5 separate regions of the Homo sapiens genome follow, and all the other regions are linked to region 3. The links are contacts of gene promoters, found by promoter capture Hi-C in blood cells and fetal thymus (Javierre and others, 2016). All regions are on one chromosome and are shown on one strand. The core of a region is centred on a gene start or on the middle of the fragment in contact, and the rest is flanking DNA. Distances in the headings are between cores, read along the strand shown. Region 1 has its middle 2.5 kb from the start of RNF146. Region 2 overlaps RSPO3 (R-spondin 3). Region 3 holds the start of CENPW (centromere protein W). Region 4 overlaps LOC105377989 (a long non-coding RNA gene). Region 5 overlaps RSPO3 (R-spondin 3).

Region 1 (2,850 bases), core at 235-2,734, 920 kb after region 3:
ATGATAGGACAGAAACCAACCTATGTATCAGCTCTGGAAACAAAGTTTTTAATTAAAATAAACAAAGTTTGCTTTCCAAAGCTTCCTCTTGGTTTGATTTCCATTCATCTGCTAGCTATAATGACTGGTACATTCCTGAATCTGGTTTGTTCTGTTTCCAGGCATATGAGAAAGTTGTGTCCACAGCTATCAGATGGTTGCCGGCATGTGAAAAGGGAAGAAATTTAACTTAGAGTTGGTAAGCAAAATAGCCCCAGACAAGCATTCTTATTTGGTCTCAGGACCCTTTGACAGTGCTAATTTATAGAAGACCCCAAAAAACTTTTATGAGCTAATCAATATTTACCAAATTAAAAGTTGAAATTGAGAATGGTTTACAATATATACTAATTCATTTAAAAATGACTCATTGTATTAACATACTTTATTAAAAAAAAAAACACTACATTTTCCAAAACAAAGCTAACTGAATGAAAGAAGAGTGCAGTTTTACTTTTTTTTTTTTTTTACATCGTTTTAATGACTGGTTTAATAGATATAGTCAAATTCTCATATCTGCTTCTATAATCAATCTATTGCTACATCACATACCATGTAGCTTCTGGAAAACTCCACTGTACATTTGAGAGTGCAAGTAAACAAAGCAACTAGAGTCTTAGTATTATTATAAGAACAATTTTCCCTCAGACACTCTGCAAGAGTCAAAGGACCCCTATGGGTCACTAGATAACACTTGGAACACCGCCGCCCTAAACTAGCCACGAGTGGTTTCAACGTACATTCTATTGTAACACATCATTTTCTCATGCATTTTCATGGATGTCTTCAGATATTAAGTAAACAAAAAAAAATGCTTTGATCCTTAAGTAAAACAAATAACATTGGACAATTTTTGAGTGTTGGAAGGATAAATGGAGAAGAGTAGGTGCCTGGAGATGTGTGGTATTCAGCAAAGTATTTTGTAAGTTGTGGGAAATAGACAATAAGCTATAAGCAAACAGGCAACTGGGTAATTCCTAGCAGTCAGCTGCAACTTCTTTACCTTTGATTCAATGAAGCAAAATGGAATCCCAGTGACAGTAACATTATTACAGAAATACATTGAAACTGTTAGGCTCTGATTTATTTAAGCAAATAATTTGAAGTTTTGGTACTTAAAATTACTGGAAACCAGTTACTCTTAATTACTGGAAACCAGCACTCTGACAATGTTGAGAGGTGCTGTCCTGTGTTATTCAAAGATATAAACTTCTATCTTTCTTTCAAGTGGCTGATGGAGGTAGGGTGTATAGTATTCCATGCATTCAATTCTGCTTTTCATATGCAACTACTGAAAAATGAGAAGTTCACTTTTATTCATATATATATACAAATGGGGATATATTCATATATATATATAAATGGAGATATATATATATTCATATATATATATAAATGGGGATATATATACACACTCACATACACAAATGTGGTTTTTGGGGTTTTTTTGAGACGGAGTCTTGCTCTGTTGCAGTGCAGGCTGGAGTGCAGTGACACGATCTCGGGCAACTTCCGCCTCCCAGGTTCAAGCGATTCTCCTGCCTCAGCCTCCCGAGTAGCTGGGATTACAGGCGCGTGCCACCATGCCCAGCTAATTTTTTTGTGTTTTTAGTAGAGACAGGGTTTCACTGTGTTAGCCACGGTGGTCTTGATCTACTGACCTCGTGATCCGCCCACTTCGGCCTCCTAAAGTCCTGGGATTACAGGCGTGAGCTACTGCCCGGCCATGTGTGTATTCATTCATTCATTCATTCATTTACTCATTCATGTAACACATATTTACAGAGAACCTCTTTAAGTGTGTCAGGCACTATTCCTGGCAGTTGAGATACAAAACAGAACACACATTCCTGGCCTCCTGTGTCTTGCGTCCTAATGTGATGAGAAATATGATGAAGATTAGTAAGTAAAATAAATTATCCATTACACTGTGATAAGTATTAAAAAGTAAAGGAGGAAATATGAAATATTGGGAATGGAAACATCATGACTTAAAATATGCTGACAAGTAGAGGGACTGACTGAAGAGTTGGACATCTGAGCACATATGGAGGGAGCATGATGGGGAAGAGTGTTCTAAGCAGAGGAAACCACAACTGCAAAGACTATGAGGTTGGCAGCTTGTGGAGAGCTTTCTGGGAATACAAAGCTGGGTAAACAGTCTGTGGGGTCAAAGAGGTAATGAGGGGAGGATTTTAAAGCCATCGTTAGGACTTTGGTTTTTACTTGTGTTGGGAAGCCACAGGAGACTTTGAGCAAAGGAGTGGTACGATCTCACTTCTTTTTAAGTAGATTTATTTAGGATTCTGTATTAAGGATAGAGTCAAAAGACTAGTTCCTGGTCTACCGTAACACTATAATCCAAACAAGAGATGATGCAGATTGTAGCGGAGGTGGTAAGTAGTTGGATATACTTTGAAGGAAGAGCCAACAGGTTATATGCCAAATGCATATAAGACATAAAAGAGAGGAGTTAAAGGTGGGTTTGAACAAGGAAAGATGCAACCATTTACTGAAATACAAAGACCTTGGGTATGAGTGAGAAGGGGTTGAACTAGCTGACATCTTACAGTCTGTGCCTGGATTCAAATCTCAGCTGTGTGTGTCTCTCTCTCTGTAAAATGGGAATAATAATAGTGCCTACCTCATAGTTTATTATGAGAATTAAGTGGGTATATATGAATAAAGCACTTAGAGCAACACCTGGCACATTGTTAGTTAATATTAGCATTACCTCTTCAAGCTGGAATCTTCGAGTACATATCAAATTTTAGCTATTCTCTGTTCATGGGCTGTGTAGGATAGAGGGAC
Region 2 (2,775 bases), core at 78-2,577, 790 kb after region 3:
ATCTCCATTAAATCGTGTTTATGAGTCTTTTTTAGTCCATGAAGGATTTTCAAATCTTGCCATAAACTGGGGAAAGTTCCATGTAAAAGTGGGGTGGAAGTCTGGGCTTCCTGACAGACTTAATCCTGCTAGTTAAGGGGGCTCTTTGGGATAATATGGGTTCCAATGAGTCACTAGGCCAAATCCCAATAACCGCAGTTGCCAAAAGTAATTAGACTGAAGAAAGCCAGGCTCCTTGGGAGGAAGGTCATCACAGCGAGCTTTAGCCATTGCTCCAACGTCAGACCTAGTTAATTGTCCCTAAGGATGGAGAGCAATCATGAGTTCCAGAGAGTAGGAAATATACCAGAAAACAATGCTTTTTCACTAATTTTTTTCCCAATAGGTTATTTACCATAAGCGTGCAAGAGATGGAAATACGTCATCAGTATGTGCAGTTTATGTCACTATCCTCATAAACCACCTTGTTTGCCTGTGTGAATGTACGTGCCCACATAGAGAACTCCCAATTCATCACTACAAGTTCTCCTCCTCCCTTCCTGAGTAGATAAAGAACTCAAAGAATCTAGTCTAAGTTCATAAAAGAAGGTGTCTGACTAGCATGGAAATGGAAGGGAAGGAATTCTTGTAAACATCCTTAGGTCAACTTAAATATCATATTATTGAAGTAACATTTGGCAACAAGAAAATGGTAGTACATTATATCAGACAAGCAATTCTAAAATATCTGGAGCTAGAACAAACTTATGATTTCTTGTACTGAAAATAATTCACTTTAGAAACATGGTGTTGTAAGTATCTAAGTAGAAATTATCAACAAGTAAGTGGTGCTATAATTTTAAGCTTTCAATATTTGAGAAATTAAAAGATTGTTAAACCTTTCCCTAGGAAAATACTCAAGTAGCACAAAAGTATTCTTGCTCAATACCCAAAGTAAAAATTTGCCTTTGAAACCATTGGCTTGGATACCCAGAAAAGATACTCCATCACTTTATGTAACGGATCTTTAATTGAACAAAGACACTGTCCTTACAGTGGTAAGTTTCAAATTCCTTTATGGTTCAGAATGACTTCAGTATATTTCAGCACTCTTTTGAGCTTAGACTACCAGTTCTCAGTTTAAATATGTGGATGAGTGATATTGCTTATTTTAAATCTACAAACAGGAAGTCAAACTCTTTTTCTGGCCAGCTTTTTCTGGCAACTGGAAATCTCCAGGTATCATCTGGCAGACAAATAAACCCTGTCCTTGTGCACTGCACACATCTAATAGTTATCATGACCTGATTGTCACTATGGCCAATATTGTGGAACAATGTATTTAATTTTCTTTCATCTTAAATTGACAATAAGATAACCAAAGAATAGAAGAATCCTAATTTTGGAAAAACTTAGCAAAATTTTTTGCTGTGTTTACTTGTACCACTGGTCATGTAGTTTCTGCCATAAAATACAAACGGTATGGACAAATGCTGCTTGGCCACAAACTGAGGACATACTGAGAAGCTACATATTTGTTTCTTATAGAATTTAGTTTTGTTTTTCAATTTATGATGAGTTTTTTTTTATATGGAGTCCAAAAGGACCCTCGTTGCTTGTTTGGTAACAAGGAACAAGGTCCAAACATGGTATCCTTAGCCCCTCTGACTTTAATTCACACACTCTCATTTCATGCCATCCTCAAGATGGTAACTCTCAGTCCCCTCCACAAAGACTGAATATAATTTTAAAAGGACAGTCTTTCTTTCATATAGCACATTTCTAAGACATCCAGCCAACTTTCCAGTTCTATCCAGAGCTTAATGTAGATCCAAGCTTTTAACACAGATCAGTGGGATTTCCTTGGAGGCCAGTTAGGCTTGCAGTATCACATAGATGCATACTTGGCCCTAGTACAATCAATAACATTTGCTATCATATCCAGCCTGTGTTTTTAAACCTGTGGGCATTATGTGACCATACCCCAAAGTTTAGTTTCTAACAGAATAAGGGAGAGTTGCAGCAAGAGAACCTCCAAACAATTTCATGCTATAACTACCATCTTCAGTATCCATGTGGACATCCCATTGACATTCCAGGAATTCATTTTAAACTGTTTGCCTCTGAACTGAGTATGTGCTCTAAGGAGAGCCTACGATCCAAGAAACCTTCATGTAATAGTTTTTACCCAAACTATTTAATTCACAAGCTGTTGGGCTGAAGTGCTCTAGGTCATCAGATAAGAACACATTCAAATGAAAATTGCCAAGATTTTCCAGTGCAGGATATTTTCGTCACCCTTCCTAGCTCAAACTCACTTCCTCATCCACTCCACAAATTCTAAACCACTACTAAGATGAGTTGAACAGTCTTAATTTTATAATCTTCCAAAGAAAAAATAAAGACACAGACAGCCGAGTTAATTTATAAAACAGTGCTGCATTTATCTTGGCAGATGTCAGTTTTCCCCCCACTAGCTCTTTCATGCTGACTACTTAGCAACTCATGGAGGATCAAGTCATTCCTATGTATCAAGCACCTTGAGAACCATTGCACTGAATAAGTTTGGTGTGTCTCTTCACACACTTCTTGTACAAATTTCTTTCCTCATAGACAATTTATTTACTGGGTCTCTGAAACCTAAATAATCCCTTTACTTTAAACCTGAAGCAAATGGAGAGTCATTTTTACAAGAGCAATAAACTAAAGTGGCTGTTCAAACACTTTACTTGAATTGCTCTGGGCACTGAAATACCTTTTTGTTAATACAAACCCTTCATATTCTAGCAGGAAAAC
Region 3 (2,767 bases), core at 34-2,533:
TGTTGAATAGATTGAGATTTTAACTTAAGCAGAGTTGGAATATTGCCAGGTTAGTGTGAGGATAAAAGAGAATGGCTATAAAGTTGTGGAGAAATACAGGGCAGTATTATGATGATCGATGCATAATGGACTACAGGAGGGAAGATAAGGCATAGAGTGGGGTGGCAGAGCTGGGGGGTGTGGTGAGAGGAACTGAAAAAGATAGGACAGTAGTCCCAGTAGCATCGAAGAATTGTTGGAGGGAGTAAATTCAAAAGATAGAAGATACGGTTGAAGAGAGACAACTAAATTGAAAGTGGCAGATCAAACCGAAGGTAAAGGTATTTAGTAATGACACCGCCTAGGGTATGACCACATGCATGAATAACTCAAGGGTGTAGAAGATGACTGGCAGAGAGGAGGTCTCAGAAATGGGAGGCCAGATAGTAGAAGGATCACTTGTGTGCGTGAGATCACAATAACATAATATTGAAATCTCAATAGAGATAGTATTAGAGATAATTATAATTAAAATCACAGCGGATCTCAAAGATTGGTCTGCAGACTAGCAAATGCCAATGTCCCTGACTTGTTAGAATTGCAAATTTTGAGTATCTCCTAGATCTAGTGAATGAGAAACTGGGAGCTGGGCCCTGCGAACAGTAGTTTAACAAGTCCCCCAGGTGATTTTGATGCACATTAAGGTTTGATAACTATTAATACTTCTATAATAGCACAGATAATAGAGAAATTAACAGCTTGAAGAAATAACAAAAAGTTCAGTGAGTTAGCATGAAACTATACCTGAAAGTTATTGCAAGGTTAAGTGAGAGGAACCTTAAAATTAAAGGGAGCAGCATTTGTAAAGAAAAGCTAGAATCATGAAAAGACCTAAGATAAGATCAAATGAAATTACGTAGAAGTGTAAAATTCTTAACTGTTAGTATCTGAAAATCATGCATTCCTTGCTAGGAAGGCATGGCATTAGTGCTGTCGGAATCCTGATAAAACATCACAAACTTCTGTTCGTTGGTATTAGGGACAGTATAGAGTGAGTGCTTGAAGAACTGCCTTGGCTTACCAATCTCTCTCTCCACAACTTCCAATCATCTCTAGGGAACCTAGCAGAAACACTTCCACAGAGCAAAAGTTATAATACAGAAAGTGATGAAAGGAGGACGCAGGCTCTCAATGACGTCAGGTATTCCCGGGACCCGCCCACCGTGGGCGTTTTCCACCTACAGGCAGGCGTCTCCGGGGGCGGGGCTTGCTCAGGGTTAACGTCACTACTGAGCGCCGGGCGCGTTCCGTTGGCGGCGGATTCGAACGTTCGGACTGAGGTTTTTCTGCCTGAAGAAGCGTCATACGGACCGGATTGTTTTCGCTGGCCCAGTGTCCCCGGAGCTTGTGTGCGATACAGAGAGCACCTCGGAAGCTGAGGCAGCTGGTACTTGACAGAGAGGATGGCGCTGTCGACCATAGTCTCCCAGAGGAAGCAGATAAAGCGGAAGGCTCCCCGTGGCTTTCTAAAGCGAGTCTTCAAGCGAAAGAAGCCTCAACTTCGTCTGGAGAAAAGTGGTGACTTATTGGTGAGATTCCATCCCTTCTCGGGCTGGGAATGGGGCACGGGAGAGGTAAGGGCAATAACCTTAAGCCTTTGTTTTTCCGCCCCGAGCCAATTTATAGCTCTTTCAGGCCCCTGTTTAAGGCAGTTCCAACAATGACAGGGAACGTATGCCCCACCCTGGCATGTCAGTTCATATTCCTGGCGCTCAGTTGTACCGGGCCGCGCCGAAAAGTAAATATCTGGATCTTTTTAAAGGGAGACTGTTAGTCACATGAGCTTAACGTACAGTTACTGCTTACAGTTTTAAATATTGCTGTTTAGGAACACAATCTGGCACCGTGATTAATGTACTTGCAAAGGGTATGAAAGAATCACCCTTTAAAAAATAGATTTTGGAATTCAGTCTGGGTCATTTTTATTTAGCTATTGTAAAAGGCATTGCTCACATGCCTTTTAAGGGCCTCCCTTCTTGCCTCCCTCCCTGTCTCCTCTTTCCTCCCTTGGCTCCCTCCGTCTCTCCTCTATTTACGCATTTAACCAAACATTGCCTTATTTCCTCTAGGTGAGGGTGCTTACTAAAGGACCCTGATGGGAAAGTTTATTTGTAGGAAGAGTCCTCTCAACTGTTAATTCATTTCGCTAGACAAGTAATAGAACACCTAGTCAGTTTTTAAGCTAGACTACTAAAGCCTGCTTATCTGACCCATAATACCTGAAGCATAATGTTCTCCTAATAAGAAGCCCCAATCAAACCACTGTATAATAATGTTTCTGTCTTGAAATAAATTCAGTTTGTGTGTTGAATACCTGGAACACATATTCCTCTGGCACAATGAACACTATTTCTCTAGGTTTAAACCACTGGAGGCATGTTCGGTAGCTTGTCCTTGGCTCTTTGAGTAAAGGAGCCATTATAAATGGACACATAATTTCCAGGAGATCAAGGTACAGAATTGTGGATAATAAGAGCATACTGCATGAATCATCCTAGCTGTTCTTAAACGACATTGGTTTTTCTACCTCCTCTTTACTCTTTTGCTTCCTGGACTTCTCCACTGCCACCCCATCTGTTGCTTCCTTTTCTAAACTACTATAGAATTATCGCCCCTTTCCCCTTATTTGGTCTCTGAAGCCAAAACACAACAAAAACACATTTTCCCCCAGAAAAGTATTACTTCTATCTTCTGCCCTTATTTTTGTTACTTTCTTAAATCTTGTAAG
Region 4 (2,700 bases), core at 81-2,580, 740 kb after region 3:
AAAAAGTGCAGTGCTTGAAACACTTTCTTCATTTGGTTTCAAGGCATTGCTCTCTTTTTGTTATTTAAAATCCCCTTAATGATTACTTCCTTATTGTCTTACTTTGATGTTGAAGTGTCCTCAGATTATTTCACTGGTCCTCTTCTTTGTTAACCTTAGAAATTTCATTAATATCCTGGGCTTCTATTGCCAGTGATATGCTATAAATTCCCAACTGTATATCCCATTCATTTATTGTACACAGCTTTGTTGATCACTATGTCCCAGACATTTATGTTAGCTGAAATAAAATAATCATGGTCATCACCATCTTGAAACTTAAAGTAGAGTACTACAGCCACACACTAAATATGTAAATACGCCAAACAAGTAAGTAAATAAATAAGAAAAATTAAATGATATAGAGCCATGAAGAACAGGACATAAAGAGAATAAGGTAGGAGAAAGGAAAGTCACTAAGGAATTGACATTTAAGCTTAGATCTAGAAAAAAGAAAGATCCAATATAGCTATGATCTGGGAGAAAATTGGTCCAGGGTTTCTGGCCTGGAATCTCTCCATTCCTAATATCCTCCTGAGCTCTGAACACACTCCAACAATTGCCTACTAGACAGTTCATTTGAGTAGCCTATAATTTTCTTGATTTTAAGAGGTAAAAATATAATTTCCTATACAAACGCAGTTGTCCTGCTACTCCTTGCTGCTATTTCCATCTTGGTTAAAAGGCACTACCCAAGCTAAACATCTCGGAAGTCTTGGCAAGAATCTTCCTTCTCCCTCACACCTTACATTATTCCACACCAAGTGTTGTCCATCCTGTTCCTCATAGAAGGTACTTAATGAGTGTTTCTGGCTAAGGAATGAATGACTCAATCAGGAAGTGAATGAATGGAAATGTTACTGGGCTTCTGATTCTTGATGAGAAAAACTTCTAAGCACCATCAACAAATCTGTCTTAATAGCAGTAGTACATGTTTTTTCTTAATTTAGGATGTATATCCTGCCTTTCAAAGGAGCTTAATCTACTTTTTGTTGAACTCATCACAGTCTTGAAGACCTGTAGGAAGAAACTAGATTCCAACGTGCCACCAGATCTCACCCAGCCTGAAATCAGGTCTTGGTAAATAAAATTTACTAGAGCCTCTGTTTTTTTTTTTTTTTTTTTTTTTTTTTTTTTGAGATGGAGTCCCGCTCTTTCGCCCAGGCTGGAGTGCAGTGGTGTGTCTCAGCTCACTGCAAGCTCTGCCTCCTGGGTTCACGCCATTCTCCTGCCTCAGCCTCCCGAGTAGCTGGGACTACAGGCGCATACCACCACACCCGGCTAATTTTTTTGTATTTTTAGTAGAGACAGGGTTTCACCGTGTTCGTCAGGATTGTCTCGATCTCCTGACCTCGTGATCTGCCTGCCTCGGCCTCCCAAAGTGCTGGGATTACAGGCGTGAGCCACCACGCCCAGCCAGAACCTACATTTTTATTTTAGGAAGTTTTGTTCCTGGGAAGAGCATCAGAAAAAGAAAACGATGCTCATCTTTTCCTCTCTTTTACTACCTATACACAGTGAATTCATAGATTTATACTCCTGCCCATACATCTTTCCTGAAGTACTCCTCTACAGAATTGTATATCCAACTGCCTACTCAGCATTTCCATTTAGATGTCTAATTTACTTCTTAAACATAAAACTCCAAAATGAATTTCTGATATTCTTCCCCAAACCCTGCTCTTTGAACAGTCTTTATCATATATGTTAATAACAAGTTCCTCCTTCTAGTTACTCAGGACAAAAACTTTCGAGTCGTGCTTAATTCCTCTCTTTTCCTTATATTCCATATCCAATCCTTGAGAAAATCTTCTTGGTTCTACTTTCTAAATGATTCCAGAATCTGATCCGTTATAGCCATGACCATCTCTACCACCTTATCCTAAATTGACATTGTCTGCCTCTCGGATTGTTGCAAAAATTTCCTAAATGGTATCTCTGTTTCACACTTTTTCCTTACTTCCTTTCTCAAAAGAGGCCAGAGAAAGACTTTCTGCTCAAAATGCTCCAATGGCTCCCTCTTACCTGGAGTAATATCCTAAGCCCATACAGTGGCATAATAGGCCCTCTCTGACCTGCCCCATTACTCCTTATGCATCAACTGAACTTGTACCCCAACTTGGATCTGCACATCCACTGGTCTAACTGAAGCTTCCATGCCTTGTCAACTTTTTCACAGTGCTCCCTGGAACTCATGGGTTTGTCATCTCAACAAATGCTGTATTCTCAACCTCTTCTCCATTGGTCACTTTGCCATATTAGATCCAGCATAACTTGTATGCCCCTCAATTGATGGCTTTTTCTCCCACTCAGCAAGATGAGCTATGTATTCTTTCTGCCCTTTATGGCTACTTCTGTAATAAGTATAGATAAATATTTTTTAAATATATCATTTGATGTGGGTTTATTTTACTTAAAATAAGTGTATATAATATATAATACAATTTTGGTATATGAAAGATTTTCCCATCTATTATTTTTTCCCAAGATTGTTGAATACCAAAAGACTAGGAAATGTTAGTATGCATTTGATATTATTTGTTCTTGGCTTGTCATGTGTAATTGTGTCATATGAATAGGTCCAAGCCAAGCAGAGATAACTTAGCAGTGTAAAAGTAGCATGACAGCTAAGAAAGATTATTTAAGGTCACATAGGATGGC
Region 5 (2,705 bases), core at 23-2,522, 850 kb after region 3:
GGTCCAATTCCAGATTCAAAAATAATAAGATCAACCCCTTTTTCACACTGTGAGTGCTTTATAGAAGGCATAAAGCCATGGGCTTCCAGTTGAATTTCATTCCACACCAAATAAAAAGAAAAGAAAAATGTAATACTTATTTAATTGGTTTGAGTCATATAATTCGTGATATTTAGTCCTCAGTCTGTAATGTGGAATACATTTTTAGCATTTGGGTAAAAATTATAACCTAGTTTGTCTTGGGAAGTGAACTACTTACAGCTCAATGGCTCCCCTTAGTGACACTTCGCAAGAAATTCACAAAGCAGCAGCTTTTATGAAGACCTATAGACAGATTTTATCCAAACATCAAGAAAATAGCTGCTATTCATAATTTAAGTGGTTCTCAATAAGTGAATTACAGTTGTGATTCTAGGGAAAGCAACTCTTTTTTTCATAACCTCATTATGTTTAAAGGATATTGAACGTGTTCTATGGTTTGCATTTTCACTTGGAATTTAAATATATACAAGTTAGGAAGAATAATTCAGGATCACTCTCTTTGTCATTTTTTACATGTTTATTTTTTCTAGTTCATATATGCACTTGAACAGGTTTTAAAAAGATAACCTGCAATTAATTTAATTTATATCTGGGTGCCTATTCCAAATTTATCTATTAAGAAAACTTGCCTTAAAATTAGTAGCTACAGTAAGTCAAAAACGTATTTGATATTCATTAGGAAAAATGAAAGAAACAAAGGAGCAACCATGCAATTTGAAGTAAGTTTTGAGAGTATATATTTGAAGAAATTGGGTCTTCTGTTGCTCTGCAGCTTTGGCTTTTAAATGTGGTTGCACATCAAAATAAACTGGGGGGGAGGGGTGTGAACTTGTTGTTGACTACAGGTTCTTGGGCCCCTCATAAGAACCACTGAATCATAATCTCCAAGGGTGGGATCTAGGAATCTGTATTTTTATATGTTTTGGAACATTGTCTGCAGAAGGCCATAGGAAATGTTTATGTAAAAGACTGTATGTGTTTATACTAACAGAAAATAATTTCAGAATCTTAAAAATAACAATTATCAATTCAATTATGTGATACTACTATGCAACAAAATCTTAAATATGGCTTTTTGGTCTACATGGAGATTTTAGCTACTCTTTCAAAAATTAAGGCTCAAAAATACCAACCACTGACTACATTCCCTCTACAGCATCTTATTACTTACAGCAATTTTCTGAAATAGGAAATAAGGTCAACATGTAAGAATAGCCTATTGGCCTTTTCTAAACTCATCACAGAAACATCCAAACTCTGGCCTGCTATCTGAATTCAATACTTGCCCTTCTCTAGTTTTCAGTACACTGGTCCTCAGGACAAACTCCCAACATGGCAATTGAAGCCCGTATATCTTTCCAGCTTCTATGGGTAATATTCTATATATAGACTCTGATCAAACCAAGGAAGTTGACTTTCAATGCCCCAGATTCACCATGTCCTTGCATGCCTTAGTGCATGTTCACTGCCTGGCATGCACTTCTTCCCTCATCAGCCTAGCAAACTCTCAGTCATTCTTTTAGGCTCACCTCAAACATCATTACATCAGGGGAATTATTTTCAGTCTCTGAAATCATTTTCAGTCTCTCTTCATGGAGTTCAATGCTTTCCCACTGTACCCCCAACAGGACCTTGTACACACCTCTATTTTAGCATTAACATGTGACTATAATTATTGGCAGTCTCCATATCTAACTTATATCCCCAGGTTTTATCACACATTTTTGGCACAGAGTAGGGGCTTTGTTCATGTTTGTGCAAGGGGTTAATAATATTAGTTTTCATTTGTCCCATGAGTAACATATGCCAGTCACCATGCTAAATGCTCTACCAGCATCTCATTTAATCCTTATGAAGTTTAGCAAGAAGTAAGGATTATTCACATTTTAAATATATCAGAGAGTTAATCCTGAGAAATATCAACAACTTGCCAGAGTTCACACAACTAGTTGGTGGCAGACCTAGAATTTGAAAACAGCATTTTTCTGGCCCTAAGGACAGTGTACTTAAATGTTACACCATAGTGCTTCTCTGCAAGGGCTCAGATTGTACTTGACTGCTAATAGCAAATTCTCTTTGATGTTTTCTACCCAAACACCCTCATAGGTAGAACATCAAGGGGAGATGAACGCTGTTTTAATCACTAGAATGTTCCAAAACCCAGTTCAGGCAGGTACGTGCGTGTACACATGCACACAAACATGAATATTCAGTGAATGGCAAAGCACACGTGTGTGTGTATATATATATGTGTGTGTATATATGTCAGATTGTCATAACTGGAATGCTTAGTTTGCAAAATTGCCAAAAAAGCCTGAAAAAAATATTAACCACATCAATGAAAAGTCACCAGAATAAAAAAGGAAGTCCCCTTTAATGAAAACCTTACAAAATTATCCCAAATTACACGTGATTTTTAATGGACTACAGCCACTCTTGTGTATTTCTATTTTATTTCTTACACAAGCAGAAAATATATTTATGCAAAGGGTAGTTAGCATTTCCAACCACTAACACATGGCCTGTAAAAAAATAACAACCTCATTCTTCTGTTGTGCAATAGCCCTCTGTTGAGCAGCAATAATGTACAATGTGTTAGTTTCCTGTTACTTTACTAGAGCCTTCCCTTTCACTCACTGCCCAGACTAGTTATTCCTTGGACA

What was found. The method cuts DNA at HindIII sites, captures the fragments that hold promoters and counts their contacts. A CHiCAGO score of 5 or more calls a contact.
Region 1: a fragment that was not itself captured here is called in contact with the fragment with the promoter of CENPW in region 3 in 1 of 17 cell types (M2 macrophages); the score reaches 5.5 in M2 macrophages.
Region 2: a fragment that was not itself captured here is called in contact with the fragment with the promoter of CENPW in region 3 in 3 of 17 cell types (M1 macrophages, monocytes and endothelial precursors); the score reaches 6.3 in M1 macrophages.
Region 4: a contact is called between a fragment that was not itself captured here and the fragment with the promoter of CENPW in region 3, in 1 of 17 cell types (endothelial precursors). The highest score is 5.6, in endothelial precursors.
Region 5: a fragment that was not itself captured here is called in contact with the fragment with the promoter of CENPW in region 3 in 2 of 17 cell types (monocytes and M0 macrophages); the score reaches 7.6 in monocytes.

Annotation. Positions count from the first base shown.
Region 1 is chr6:127,262,902-127,265,751 of GRCh38, forward strand. No RefSeq gene overlaps it. Among named protein-coding and RNA genes, the nearest start is that of RNF146, 2.5 kb to the right of the region's middle. The HindIII fragment of the contact is 2,811 bases long and covers 80-2,850 here.
Region 2 is chr6:127,129,279-127,132,053 of GRCh38, forward strand. The region is part of intron 1 of RSPO3 (R-spondin 3); the gene reads left to right. All of the region lies in intron 3 of LOC105377989 (a long non-coding RNA gene), which reads right to left. Among named protein-coding and RNA genes, the nearest start is that of RSPO3, 12 kb to the left of the region's middle. The HindIII fragment of the contact is 972 bases long and covers 842-1,813 here.
Region 3 is chr6:126,338,832-126,341,598 of GRCh38, forward strand. It overlaps CENPW (centromere protein W), which reads left to right and starts at 1,284. Exons shown (of 3, transcript NM_001012507.4): 1 at 1,284-1,568. The coding sequence starts at 1,443. RefSeq lists enhancers at 1,174-1,443, 1,454-1,503. The HindIII fragment of the contact is 14,002 bases long and covers 1-2,767 here.
Region 4 is chr6:127,077,241-127,079,940 of GRCh38, forward strand. All of the region lies in intron 4 of LOC105377989 (a long non-coding RNA gene), which reads right to left. Among named protein-coding and RNA genes, the nearest start is that of RSPO3, 40 kb to the right of the region's middle. The HindIII fragment of the contact is 1,715 bases long and covers 474-2,188 here.
Region 5 is chr6:127,190,496-127,193,200 of GRCh38, forward strand. The region is part of intron 4 of RSPO3 (R-spondin 3); the gene reads left to right. All of the region lies in intron 1 of LOC105377989 (a long non-coding RNA gene), which reads right to left. Among named protein-coding and RNA genes, the nearest start is that of RSPO3, 73 kb to the left of the region's middle. The HindIII fragment of the contact is 4,554 bases long and covers 1-2,705 here.